Regions from separate parts of the Homo sapiens genome. Here region 1 is linked to region 2. Evidence: promoter capture Hi-C in human tissues and cell types (Jung and others, 2019). All regions are on one chromosome and are shown on one strand. Each heading gives the region's core, a stretch centred on a gene start or on the middle of the fragment in contact. The rest is flanking DNA. Distances are from core to core; before and after follow the strand shown. Region 1 overlaps MMP2-AS1 (MMP2 antisense RNA 1). Region 2 holds the start of CES1 (carboxylesterase 1).

Evidence for each region. The method cuts DNA at HindIII sites, captures the fragments that hold promoters and counts their contacts. A contact is called where the count stands out against the background at its distance.
Region 1: a fragment that was not itself captured here is called in contact with the fragment with the promoter of CES1 in region 2 in 2 of the 25 tissues and cell types used here (H1 embryonic stem cells and dorsolateral prefrontal cortex).

The regions. Positions count from the first base shown.
Region 1 is chr16:55,441,715-55,447,977 of GRCh38, forward strand. It overlaps MMP2-AS1 (MMP2 antisense RNA 1), which reads right to left. Exons shown (of 7, transcript NR_147198.1): 3 at 5,150-5,234; 4 at 2,399-2,507. Among named protein-coding and RNA genes, the nearest start is that of MMP2-AS1, 17 kb to the right of the region's middle. The HindIII fragment of the contact is 3,141 bases long and covers 739-3,879 here.
Region 2 is chr16:55,831,370-55,837,000 of GRCh38, forward strand. CES1 (carboxylesterase 1) reads right to left here and starts at 1,727. Exons shown (of 14, transcript NM_001025195.2): 1 at 1,635-1,727. The coding sequence starts at 1,686. The HindIII fragment of the contact is 6,998 bases long and covers 1-2,573 here.

The DNA.
Region 1 (6,263 bases), core at 1,059-3,558, 390 kb before region 2:
TTGGTTCCACCACTGGGTTAATGCTAACTGCTGGAGTCCAGCATCTCTTGTATTAGATATATCTTTATCCGCTGACAGTTGAATTCGATCCACCTGCACATTATTTTGAGGACAGGTGTTGAGAGCTAACCAGTTGCTGGTATAGGCTAGTCTGTTTCCCCCAGAACACAATATTGTCCTGTGCTGTGTAATGGTGTTTCGGTCAATGACAGGCTGCATATATGACAGTGGTCCCATAAGATTATAACGGAGATGAAAAATTCATATCACCTAGTGACACGGTAGCCATTGTAATACTGTAGTGCAATTACTTTATTTTTTATAAATTTAGCATGGCCTAAGTCTACAGTGTTTATAAAGTCTCTAGTGGTATACAGTAATGTCCTGGGCCTTCACCTTCACTCACCACTCACTCACTGACTCACACAGAACAAATTCCAGTGCTGCAAGCTCCATTCACAGTAAGTGCCCTATACAGGTGTACCATTCTCTACTTTTTATACCATAATTTTACTGGACCTTTTCTATATTTACATATGTAAATGCTTACCACGGTGTTACAATTACCTACAGTATTCAGTGTGATACATGCTATACCGGTTTGTAGCCTAGGAGCAAAAGGCTATTCCATATAGCTTATACCATCTAGGTGTGTGTAAGTACACTGTATGAGGTTGGCACAATGATGAAATAGCCTCTCAGAACACATCCCCATCCGTCACCAACACATGACTGTAAAATTCAACATCCAATCATTTGACTGATTTAGTTTAGAAGATCAGAATCTAAAGAAATTTTTTTTAAACTTCTGGAAAAACAGGGGTTAAAATTCTGGCACTTTTCTTCAAACATCAATATTTGTGACTTATTAATTACCAATGGATGATCACCAAACGAGGAAGGATCTTCCCATCAGAGTCTAATTAGTTTCATTGTCTTTTTTTTTTTCTGGATTCCATTGTATTTCACTCTACCCTTCGGCTGCCTGTTTTAATTAATGTTGCACTACATTCAAAGGTTTTGCTTTTGTGCCTCTCTGTTTGATTTAAATTCCTTTTTGCAAATAAATAAATAAATAAATAACTATCAAAGCTAATGAGGCTCTGAAGATTTGAGATGTAAATATCATATGCAGATTCTTTTTTGGTCCCAGCTCAGCGGAAGACCAAAAATAACACTTGAAAGTTTGATTAAGAAATCTCAGGCTCCCCATCTCATGCCTCCCTCCAGACAATCTTTCTGCTGGCATTTTCAGTTATTTGACAAAAAAAAAAAATCAAGCCCCCCAAACCCAAAACCTCAAGAGCAAGCTCCTTTCAAGACTGGCTCAGATGGGCATGGTATTGTGCTGAGCTGCTATTTAAGATCCAGCCCGGACTGACTGATTCCTGTCTGTCCTGAGAGATCTGTGCATGTCAATGCATCCACTCACCACACACACACACACACACACACCTTCATATGCATCCACAGACACACAAAATTATTTTCACACACAAACTCATCCATATTCATACACGCATACCCTCATGCCCACTCACCAATGAAAACTCGAAACACACATATTTCCACACATGCAAACTCATCCATGTTCATACACACATACCTTCATATACACTCACCAACACAAACTCACAACACACATTTTCACACATGCAAACTCATCCATATTCATACACACATACCCTCATACACACTCACCAATAAAAACTTGCAACACAGACATTTTCACACATGCAAACTCACCCATATTCATACACACATACCCTCATACACAGTCACCAACACAAACTCACAACACACACATTTTCACACTCATACGTGCGCGAACTCACACACTGATATACACATACTCACCCACATGTAAGTAGACTCATACACATTCCTGCATGCATTCACACACAGTTTCCATATGCACACACATTCTCCCACACACCTGACACATACATCATGCTTTCGCAGATCAAGTTTCCAGTTTCACATCTGTGTCACCTCCAGTACATTTTCGTACACACCCTCAAAAGACATCTCTGCAAGAAATTCCAAGACTCCCCACCCCCTTCCTGGCCCACCATCGTCCTTTTGGGTGTATTCAGGGGCAGCCTGGGGCACAGTTATTAAACTGTATCCCAAAGAGCTCTTCCACTATGCAATCTGCTTTTGCCTGAGATCTCTGTATCCTTTACTGAGAAAGTCTGATTCATTTCCCAGAAATTTTTATCTGCTATTAATCTTTCAGGATATAGTTAGTGTTGTGATATATTCAGATATTGTTTTTGGGTGGCAGGGGGAGGGGAGGGCAGATTTCAAGTGGCCGTCCCCTGGCAGTTTCAGAGATTACTCAGTGCTTATAAGCAGCTCAGAACTGTGTGACAGCATTTCCAAGCAAGGGACTTACAATCATGTTTCATTAATTCGACGTGAATGAAGCCTCATTTCTGGCCTTGAGGAGCTTAAGATGTATGTGAAATTAATAACAGAACAGATGTCTTCACAATTTGGTTCCTCTGGAAAAAAAAAAAAAAAAGGAACCTGATTACTTTGAAAATTTCAATGCTTTAAAATGCAGACCCAGGGAGTTTTTACTCCAGGGTAAAGAGTTATGCCTTGATATCGTCCACGTCTCATAACTAAGTGGAATTTAAATGTCAGGTTTATATTAAATAGTCATATTCCCCATCATGACATATAATAAACAACAGCTTATTACTTTCATTAATAAGATGTGTTGGACATTTAAACTAAAGCTTTGGAGATAAAGCCTGTACCTCCTGAGCAGGAGGTGCTGGGGAGACACAGGGGACACGTCGGGGAATATTCAGGCAGCCTGGTTTTTAGCTTTCTGATAATTTAATCATTGATTCCTCATAGGAAAACAAAATGCATCTGTGCTCACACAGAACTCACCACTTTATAAAGAAGTTGAGCCGTCTCCCACGGATGTGTGTGCCGGAGGCCGAATGTTGTGTTTCACAGGACACTTGAAGTCCTGCCTCTTTATTATTTCTTCCTGCCTGAAATCTTGTTTCTTTATCTAGGCTTCTGTGACACTAAGTGCCCCTCAAGCTGAATTTTAACTACTCCTCAGGGCGCAAGTGTGACTGCACACCAGGGGGGCTGGGTTTTTATTTCTGAAAGTCCAAAGGGGAACAGTGTAATGGAAAAATTACCCAAAGGGAAGTTATTCTGGAGGAGCAGGAAGAGAGAGCAAAGGCCCCCAGGCACATGGCCAGGAGTTCCCCTTGCCCTGGGTAGACAAGTGAATGAAGCTTTCAGGGGAAAGCAGTGCTAAATGGGGAAGCCCAGGGTTCACGTTAGGTCTCAGAATCTGGTCTACTGTAATGACCATAACAACCACTGTAATGACCCTTCTCTCTTTCCAGGGCCACTACGTGTCCTTGAAACTGTCAACTTCCCCACTTTCCCCCATGGAGAAAACAAGAGCATTAGACCAAATGACCTGCCAGCTTCTCACTTTGACATTCTCCATATCCTCTAAATTTGGCTTCCATGACATTTATTTTACTATGTCTACCTACTCCTCTCCACCTCCTTCCTCTCACAACTGGACTGGGTGTGGGGTGCCATGGTACAGTCACCTCTGCTGATTGCCCCAGATACAAAGGTCAAAAGAAGCTCGCAGGGCAGGAGGTCTTCTCTGGTCCCAGCTCTCCCTAGGGATGTGGCCTGGGGTAAGATGCATGCTGTGGGTGCCAGGCGTGGTGGCTCAAGATGCATGGTGTGGGCACCGGGCGTGGTGGCTCGTGACTATAGTCCCAGCACTTTGAGAGGCCAAGGTGGGAAGATTGCATGGAGTTTGAGACCAGCCTGGGCAACATAGTGAGACTCTGTCTCCACAAACAAAAAGAAGGCAGGCATAGTGGCACATAGCTGTAGTCCCAGCTACCTGGGAGGCTGAGCTGGGAGAATCGCTTGATCCCAAGAGGTCGAGGTTGCAGTGAGCTGTGATTGTGCCACTGCACTCTAGTCTAGGTGACAAAGCAAGAGCCTATTTCAAAAAAAGAAAAAAAAAAGATACACGGTGTGTTTGACCCTCGGATTTTTTATGTGAAAAGGGGTGGAATGACCCTCACCCAGGACTGTCATGAGAATGATATGAGCTGGTGCACATGCGTTTGGTACAGAGCATAGAAGCATAAAAGCTCCTGTTAGTGTTCACAGCTAGGGATCTCAAGCAATGTGCAGGAGAGAGGTATCCCGGGGTGACTGCACTTTTAGAAACTCCCTGGGCACTGGTGTTGAAGGAGCATTGTCTAAGTCTTCCTTATTCTTGACTGATATGGGGGCTGTGTGTGCACAGCAGTAGAGACCCGGGTCAGGATGCGGAAGGCGGGCCCCATCCAAGGGAGTGGGGGCAGCTCAGTGTCAGGCACTTATCACCCTGGGTGTGTATCCCAGTGGCGCTACGTAGCAATGCCAGGCCTTCTCCCTCTTCAGGGAAACCAGGAATGTGGAATTTTATGTGAAAGCTTCTAAGTTTTGAGTAGAGATCACTACAAGTCTGCACGCCATTCCTTGAAACCACTGGGGTCAGTGGTATTTCAGTATTTAAATTTTCAGATTTAAAAATATTATACAATGAGATCACCATTTATAACGTGACATCTCCAAGGGGGGTCTGGGAAAACATGTCACAGCCAAGCCCATTAATAATTTGGCATCAAAATAATTATACTCATGAAGAGTGGTGAGACATGGGACTCAACACTTTCTCTCCTTGTGGGGACCAGGCCAAGCCCCCACCACACTGGCAGAGTCAAGGCGACTGTGGCTGAGGCCTTGTGACCCAGTTTCCTGCAGCCAGCCCCACTCACTCCCAGGAGAATCATAGAAGCCATAAAGCTTTGGGATTCCTGAACTGAAAAGGCCATGACAACCACTGTGTAAACCCCATAAACACTGCATAAGGTCACCACACAGCTCCAAGTGACAGAATCCCAAGCCAAATAGGCTTAAATGAAGAACAGCAATAGCAATCAAGTTTATTAGGTTATAGGAGAGAAAAGTACAGAGGTGTCTGTTCAGGATCACCTGGATCCAGGTGCTCCAACAATGGCCCCTGGAGTCAGTTTTTATCTCTCTGCTCCACGTTTGGCTGTGTTGCTTCCTTACTCACACAGATACTTACCTCATGGTAGCAAAAAGGCTGCCAGAAGCTCCAGCTCCACATATTTCTGGGATTGGTCCCCTGGGAAACAGCATCTGTTCTGTCCCTAGAACAAAAGCCATGGGTTATCGCTAGGGCTCTGAAGGGGTCCTTTGCCCATCCTGGAGCCAATCACAGCAGTCTAGGTTCCCCGCCGGCCTGGAACTAAGGATAGGTTCCTTCTGGCCCATTCTACCCAGAGTTCAGAGCCAGAGAAACTGAATGGAGGCCTGGGTGGGGGCAAAACCGTAGGTGTCTATTACCAGGGTGACTCAGGAAACCCTTTCATTTCAGCAGAGCAGACAATGAAACTAAGAGAGGAGGTGAGATTTGGCCAGAGTCACACAGCAGGGTCACTGGCAAAGTCAAGGTTGTGACCCCGACATCTCACGGTTTGGAAATCCCTGCATTGTACCACATGTGATTAGTGGAGCCTGCTTGGAAGCCTTCCCCCATTTCCTATGTCTCCTCTCCCCCCGAGGGGGAAGAGATGAGGAAAACCAATATGCTAACAAGCACACGCCCCCATGAGCGTGCACGCGCGCGCATGCGCACACGCACACACAAGCACATAAGCCTTATGAGCAAAAAGATCACAGCACTCTATTAGCAAGCTTGTGCCAGAGTAACCACAATTTATCTTTTCTTCTCTTATACATCCCTCATCTCTGGAGAGGTCTCTACTGAGTCCAGCACAGAGTTAGCACCCAATAAATGTCGCCATTATTATTGTTGTAATTATTATTTCTCATACTATGAATTACTCTCTTCCACACTCTCCTTGGCCTAATCTGTTAATTTACCTTGAGGTGCAAATGATTAAGCAGAGTGAGTATGAATGGCCAAGCAGAAGGACCAAGGGAGTTGGCATTTTTAATAAGAGCCAGAGCCTGAATTCAGCAAAAGGCATAAAACCCTCATAATTATTAACGTGCATAGCTCTTTCCAGTTTGCAGACTGGTTTCTCATTCACCTCATTTGATTTTTAAAAAACAAAAAACAAAACCGGAAAACAACCCTGTGAGTGAGATTAGAAGGGAATCATCTCCAACCACAGATAAGAAAGCCAAGCACTCCCGAAAAAACATTTAGCTAA
Region 2 (5,631 bases), core at 477-2,976:
ACAGGATGAGGTGGATGGCAGCCAGATTGCCAAGGGTGAAAAAGTGGGTGAATGGGGGGAGGCAGAAACAAGTGTGAGAACAAGACCAGTTGCTGCTGATGTTATATGAAGCACGAACATGGTGGGCACCTACTATGTGCCAGGCATGCATTCCAGTTTTTTAAATTAATCTTCAAATAAGCCTTGCTGGGTAGGCATCAACATGCCCATTTTACAGAGGAGGAAACTGAGGAAGTGGAGGCAGCCTGTATGGTCTTCCTAAGGAAGGAAATGGATGGCATTGCCAGGAGTAACCAGAGGTAAAGGAACATTCAGTTCCAAATAGGCTTCCTCTCTTCTCTGCCCTTCCCCACAGTTCCAGAGCTCTCGCAGTGTCAGGCTGCCAGAAGGAAGACAGGATGCAGACGGGGCTGGGCTGTCAGGATTCAGGACCCAGAGACAGACCTAGGCGTGATTTTCGGGTTGACCCTGGGCAAGTACATTTCCCTGTGTGAGTCTCAGTTTCTCTGTCTATAAAATGGCATGGGGGTATTTCGAGGCCCCTCGCTGCACCCCTCTATGTACCATGTGTTTTGCTTTCTGTATTCTGATGCTCTGGCATCTGAGGCCTTGTTGACCTTGGAGAAACTCCCTCCCAGGGTCCAGCCACCCCAGAGCCCACACCCCAACTGCCTCTTTGATCGGGTTGCCATGCCCTGGCCACTACCCACCTGCCCTAATCATGCCAGGGCTAGGTACAAAACAATTAGGAACAGCCCCTGTGCCCCAGAGCCCCTGAAGTATCCCAACTTGCCAGTCCTCAGCCTGCCTGCCCTGCCTTTCCTCTTCTATCCTTGGAAGCCACAGTAAAAGCCCCTTGGCCTCAGATCCGCCCTGTCCCCTCCCCAGGCTCTGCTGCTTCCCCTTGTGCCCCGCGCACTGGTGTCCCCCTCCTGTTGAGAACATGAGTAAGAAACTGTCTTTTTAATGGCAAGAGGTCCTGATATAGTGGCCTGACCACAGCTCAAATTTTCTATTCATACACTACGTTTTTAAACAGCGCCTTTATTTATCCATCCCTTTTTCGTGCTTTCTACATACCAGGCGCTGCCAAGAGTGCTTTAGAAACAGCCACCCATTTCCTCCTCACCAAAGCCCAGTGAGGTAGGCAGCACTGCCACCTCTGTTTCAGAGAGGGGGTAACCCAAGCACGGAATAGCGCAGTCCCTTGCCTAAGGACACACAGCGAGGAAGCGCCCAGCGGGGACTCGAACCCACGCACTCTGGCTCCAGAGTCGATGCTCTTAATATTATGTTGAGCCGCTCTCCGTGATCCAGCCGTAAGGGGACTAATTAAGGGACAGCAAACTGAGCTGCCTAAATTTCTCGTGTGTGCGGCCTGAGGTGGGCCGGCTGTCGGCCTGCATTTGGGCGAGCAGTACAGGGCGATCTCAGGATGTTCACCCTCCCTGCGTCTCCGCGCGGGCCAGGCTGGCCGGGCTCAGCTGCTCCAAGTCCAAGTCCTAATATGGAAGTCGTGCCCCGCCGCAGAGCCGGACCTGTTGTGTCTTTGCCTTTCTACGCATCTGCGCCCACCTCGGCCCAGAACAAGGATTTCAAAAAGTGCCCCGCATTTTGATTTCAGAAGGACTCACCCCAAGCCGCGGAAGCAGAGAGAGTGGCCAGGATAAAGGCACGGAGCCACATCGTGGAAGGGCGACAGTTCTCGGGGCCTGCGAGGTCTCTGTGCAGTTCAGAGGGACTGTGCTGTCCAGCCCTGGAGCCCAGCCCCGCCCAGAGTTACCGCCCTGCGCTGCCAATTGCCTAATCCTCTAATTGGGAGAGATCAGAAAAGCCCTCCCTTTCCTCAGATCTCCCTGGGCTTCTAGTGGGGCCTCAGGCCACGCCCACCCACAGTTTACCCTCTTTCATCAAACCAGTCTGGACTCTACTGTCAGATTACAGAGAGCTGTAAACTTGCCCAACTACTTGTTACATAAGGGTTCACCCTTGCAGGACTCTAACCTCAGTGCACTGTGACGGCCCCCAAGGGCCCACACCAGCAGGCAGATGCTTTTAGGCAAAGGGAAGCTTTGATCTGAGGTCCTCAGAAACAACTGGAAAATGTTAGAGCCACTCACACCTCACAGCTCAGCTGGGTAAGTTAGGACATATCTCAGCTCCCAGGGCTTGTGTTTTCATAGCTTTCCAGGCTCTCAAGCTTGGAAGCGATCTTAAATTTCATCGAGTCCCCTTTCTGAGGCCTGAATTAGCTTCACAATATCCTGCCAACTGGTCCAGCCTCCTGTCACACACCATCGGTGTCAGAGAACTCACTACTTTCCAAAGCAGGGATTTTTGGACAGAATGTAAAAATGAACTCCGTCCCCCCATAGTCCCTGGCTGTTATCATCCATCCATCCAAGTACCCATCCATTTTGTGAACATTTACCAAAATGCTTGGCACCTGGCCATGTATAATGGATACAAAGACCAATTCAAGACATGGTTCAGCTTCTCAAGGGGCTCACCATTGTAGACAAGACAGATGGGGTGGAGGAGCAGTAGGGGTGATGTCAAGGCAATGTGAAATCACCAAATTAAGGGGATACAGAGTGCTCTGGGCACACCTGGAAAACTGTCATTTACAAGCTGCTGGGGACACAAGGAAGTCACTCAAAGCCTCTTTCATGGGATTATTAAATGTCCAACAATAGGGAATTCACTAAACACACTGTGGTACCGCTGGCTAAGGAAATACGATGTATTCACTCAAAATAGTGATGTGCACAGCTATTTATTAACAATGAAGACAGGATGCGTTGTGAAAGGAGAAAATAATAGGTTATAAACTGTTGTGCGGTGTAGGCAGTTCCTCAAAAAGTTCAACACAGAGTTTCCATATGACCCAGCAATTCCCCTCCTAGGTGTCTACCGAAGAGAACTGAAAGCATGTCCACACAAAAGCTTGTACACAAAGAGCAGTGTCATTCATCCTAGTCAAAAAGTGGGCACAACCCGCATGTCCATGACCTGATGAATGTGTAAATGAAGTGTGGTGTATGCGTGCAGAGGCATATCATCCAGCCATAAGAAGAACATGCTACAACGTGGATGAAGCTGGAAAACATCATGGTAAAGGAAAGAAGCCAGCCACAAAAGGCCACATGTCGTATGATGCTTTTTATATGTAATTTCCAAAATAGTCAAATCCATGGAGACAGAAAGTGTTTGACAGGGTCTGGGGAAGGGGAAAGAGACGGGGATGAGGAGTGACTGCTAATGGGCATGAGTTTTATCTTGGGGGTGGTAAAAATGTCCTGGGATTAAATAGTGATGATGTTAGTGCAACTTTGGGAATATACTAAACACCACTAGATTGTACACTTTAAAAAGGTAAACTTTATGACATGTGACTTATATTTCAATAAAATAATGAAATATTTTTGAAAATCTAGATAGGTATAATATGGTCCCGTTTTGGTAGTAACATATGTCTTTATTTGCATAGGAAAATACTGGAAGTCTATATATCTAATTAGAATTACAACAGCCATTTCCTGGCTGTAATCTTGTCAGTGTTTCACTTATTTGCATTTTCCACTTTTATTCCTTCATACATTCATTGACAAATATTTACTGAGAGCTTACTGTGTGGCAAACACTATGCCGAGAGTTTTGTATGCAGGATCTCAGTTCTCAAAATAACCCCGTGAGATTAATGCTGTCTCACGATCTTAAATTGATTTCTGTTGTTTAAGCCACCCAGTCTGTGATATTTTCTTCTGGCAGCCTAAGTAGACTAATACATAGGCTCAACTCAATTCCGTTATTTATTCCCAAAAGAAACTAAGGCCCAGAGATGAGGAGGGATTGCCTAAGGTCACACAGCAACTCAATGGCAAAGTCAGAACCAGAACTTGAGGCTTCTGCCTTCCAGCACAGGGTGGCTGGCAGCCATTTCTCTTGCTTTTATACATCAGGAAGATATTCTAATCAGTAGCCTTATCTAAGGCAAATTGCCTTGTCAGCTCATTGACCCAGGCTTAGCATGGTAGGGCTGAAGGGATAGAAATAGCCAGGGGAGGCTGGGCACTGTGGCAACCCTTCCCGCTCGGTAATCCTAGCACTTTGGCAAGCCAAGGTGGGAAGATTGCTTGAGAGAGGAGTTCAAGACCAACCTGGGAAACATAGTAAGACCCTATCTCTACAAGAATAAGGAGAAAGGAAGAAGAAGAAAAAGAGGAAGGAGAAGAAGGAGAAGGAGGGAAGAAAGAAGAAGAGGAAGAAGAAGAAGAAAGACAGAGAGAGACAAAGAAAGAAAGAGAGAGGAAGGAAGGAAGGAAGGAAGGAAGGAAGGAAGGAAGGAAGGGACAAAGATGGGAGCCATGTACCAGGTACCTGGGGAGCTATGTTCTATTTTCCCAATGTCACTTGGCAAGCCTGCCCTTGTCCAGGCCACACCACTATTGACATCAGGAAAGATTGGGCAACCAGCAGCCATAAATCACATGACAGTCCCAGAGCTGCTGATGGATTCTTGCCCAAGGCCATGAGTTGTAGCTGAAATGAAACTTCTGGAGACCCAAATTCAAAAAGGCATGCTCATTAGCACTCATTCTAGCCACGTGCAGGCTGGTGAGGGGCATTCTGTGATGGGAATGAGGATGCTCTGACAGCATGAGAATCAGTCCCCAGAGCTAACTGACTCTACAAAGGTTGACCTGAGCTTTAGGGTTCCTCCCTTACTTTTATCCAGGACAGAAATCTGGCTGATAAACTGCATGCTAATAAAAAGCATCCCTATCTCTATCCACAAGGGACAAATTGGGAGGTCCTCCTAAATAGAAAGCAAGGCTAGTCCCACTCACTCAGCACAACACACACACACACACACACACATGTGCACGCATGCGCGTGCCTGTTAACCATCCTGCCCTGTTGCCCTAGTCAGCTGACCTTTGCAACCTGGGAAACAGCCCTGGCTCTTGGCCTATGAAGATTTTGTGGTGCTGTGTTCACAAAATATAAAAGATAAGGATTAGTTCTTCTCCTGAACCACTGCTCAATCACATGCCCGCTTGTGACACCAGCCAATTGTGCAAACAGAATTTTTTGGCCACTCCTAGGTTTTGCCTGGGTCTGGCTGCAGCCTCTGACACCTTTTTCTGCTTCATGATGACTCTGCAGATTGTGATGGGTGAGGCTGGAGCCTACCAAGCCTTACAATAGATCTAATTTTTGCTTAATACATATAACTCCCCTGCAACACTTCAGCTGTAAGCAATACGTCTCTTGTTTAAGTGGCAGTTGGTTGGTGGGGGGCGGGGGGGATATTATTGTTTTCCCTGGGGAACACCCTCTGGTTTCCCATGTGGAACTATATGATGTGGAAAGTAAAATCCGAGGAACTGGCCTTAACTTCTAAGCAGGGGGTAGGACTTGGGAGAGTGAGCATATCTGGGGGCTTCAAATGAACTCCCCCAAACCTCTCCACCTCCATCAGTTTACTCAGCAGATATATGGAAAGCTCGTATTAGAGCAGGCATTGGGCACAGCAAGCCCATGTCCTGCTGGGCCCCTCACTCAGCTTTGTCTCTGAACCATGGGATTGATCAGGTGCAGATTTTGTGGTGGAGAACACTGAACTGG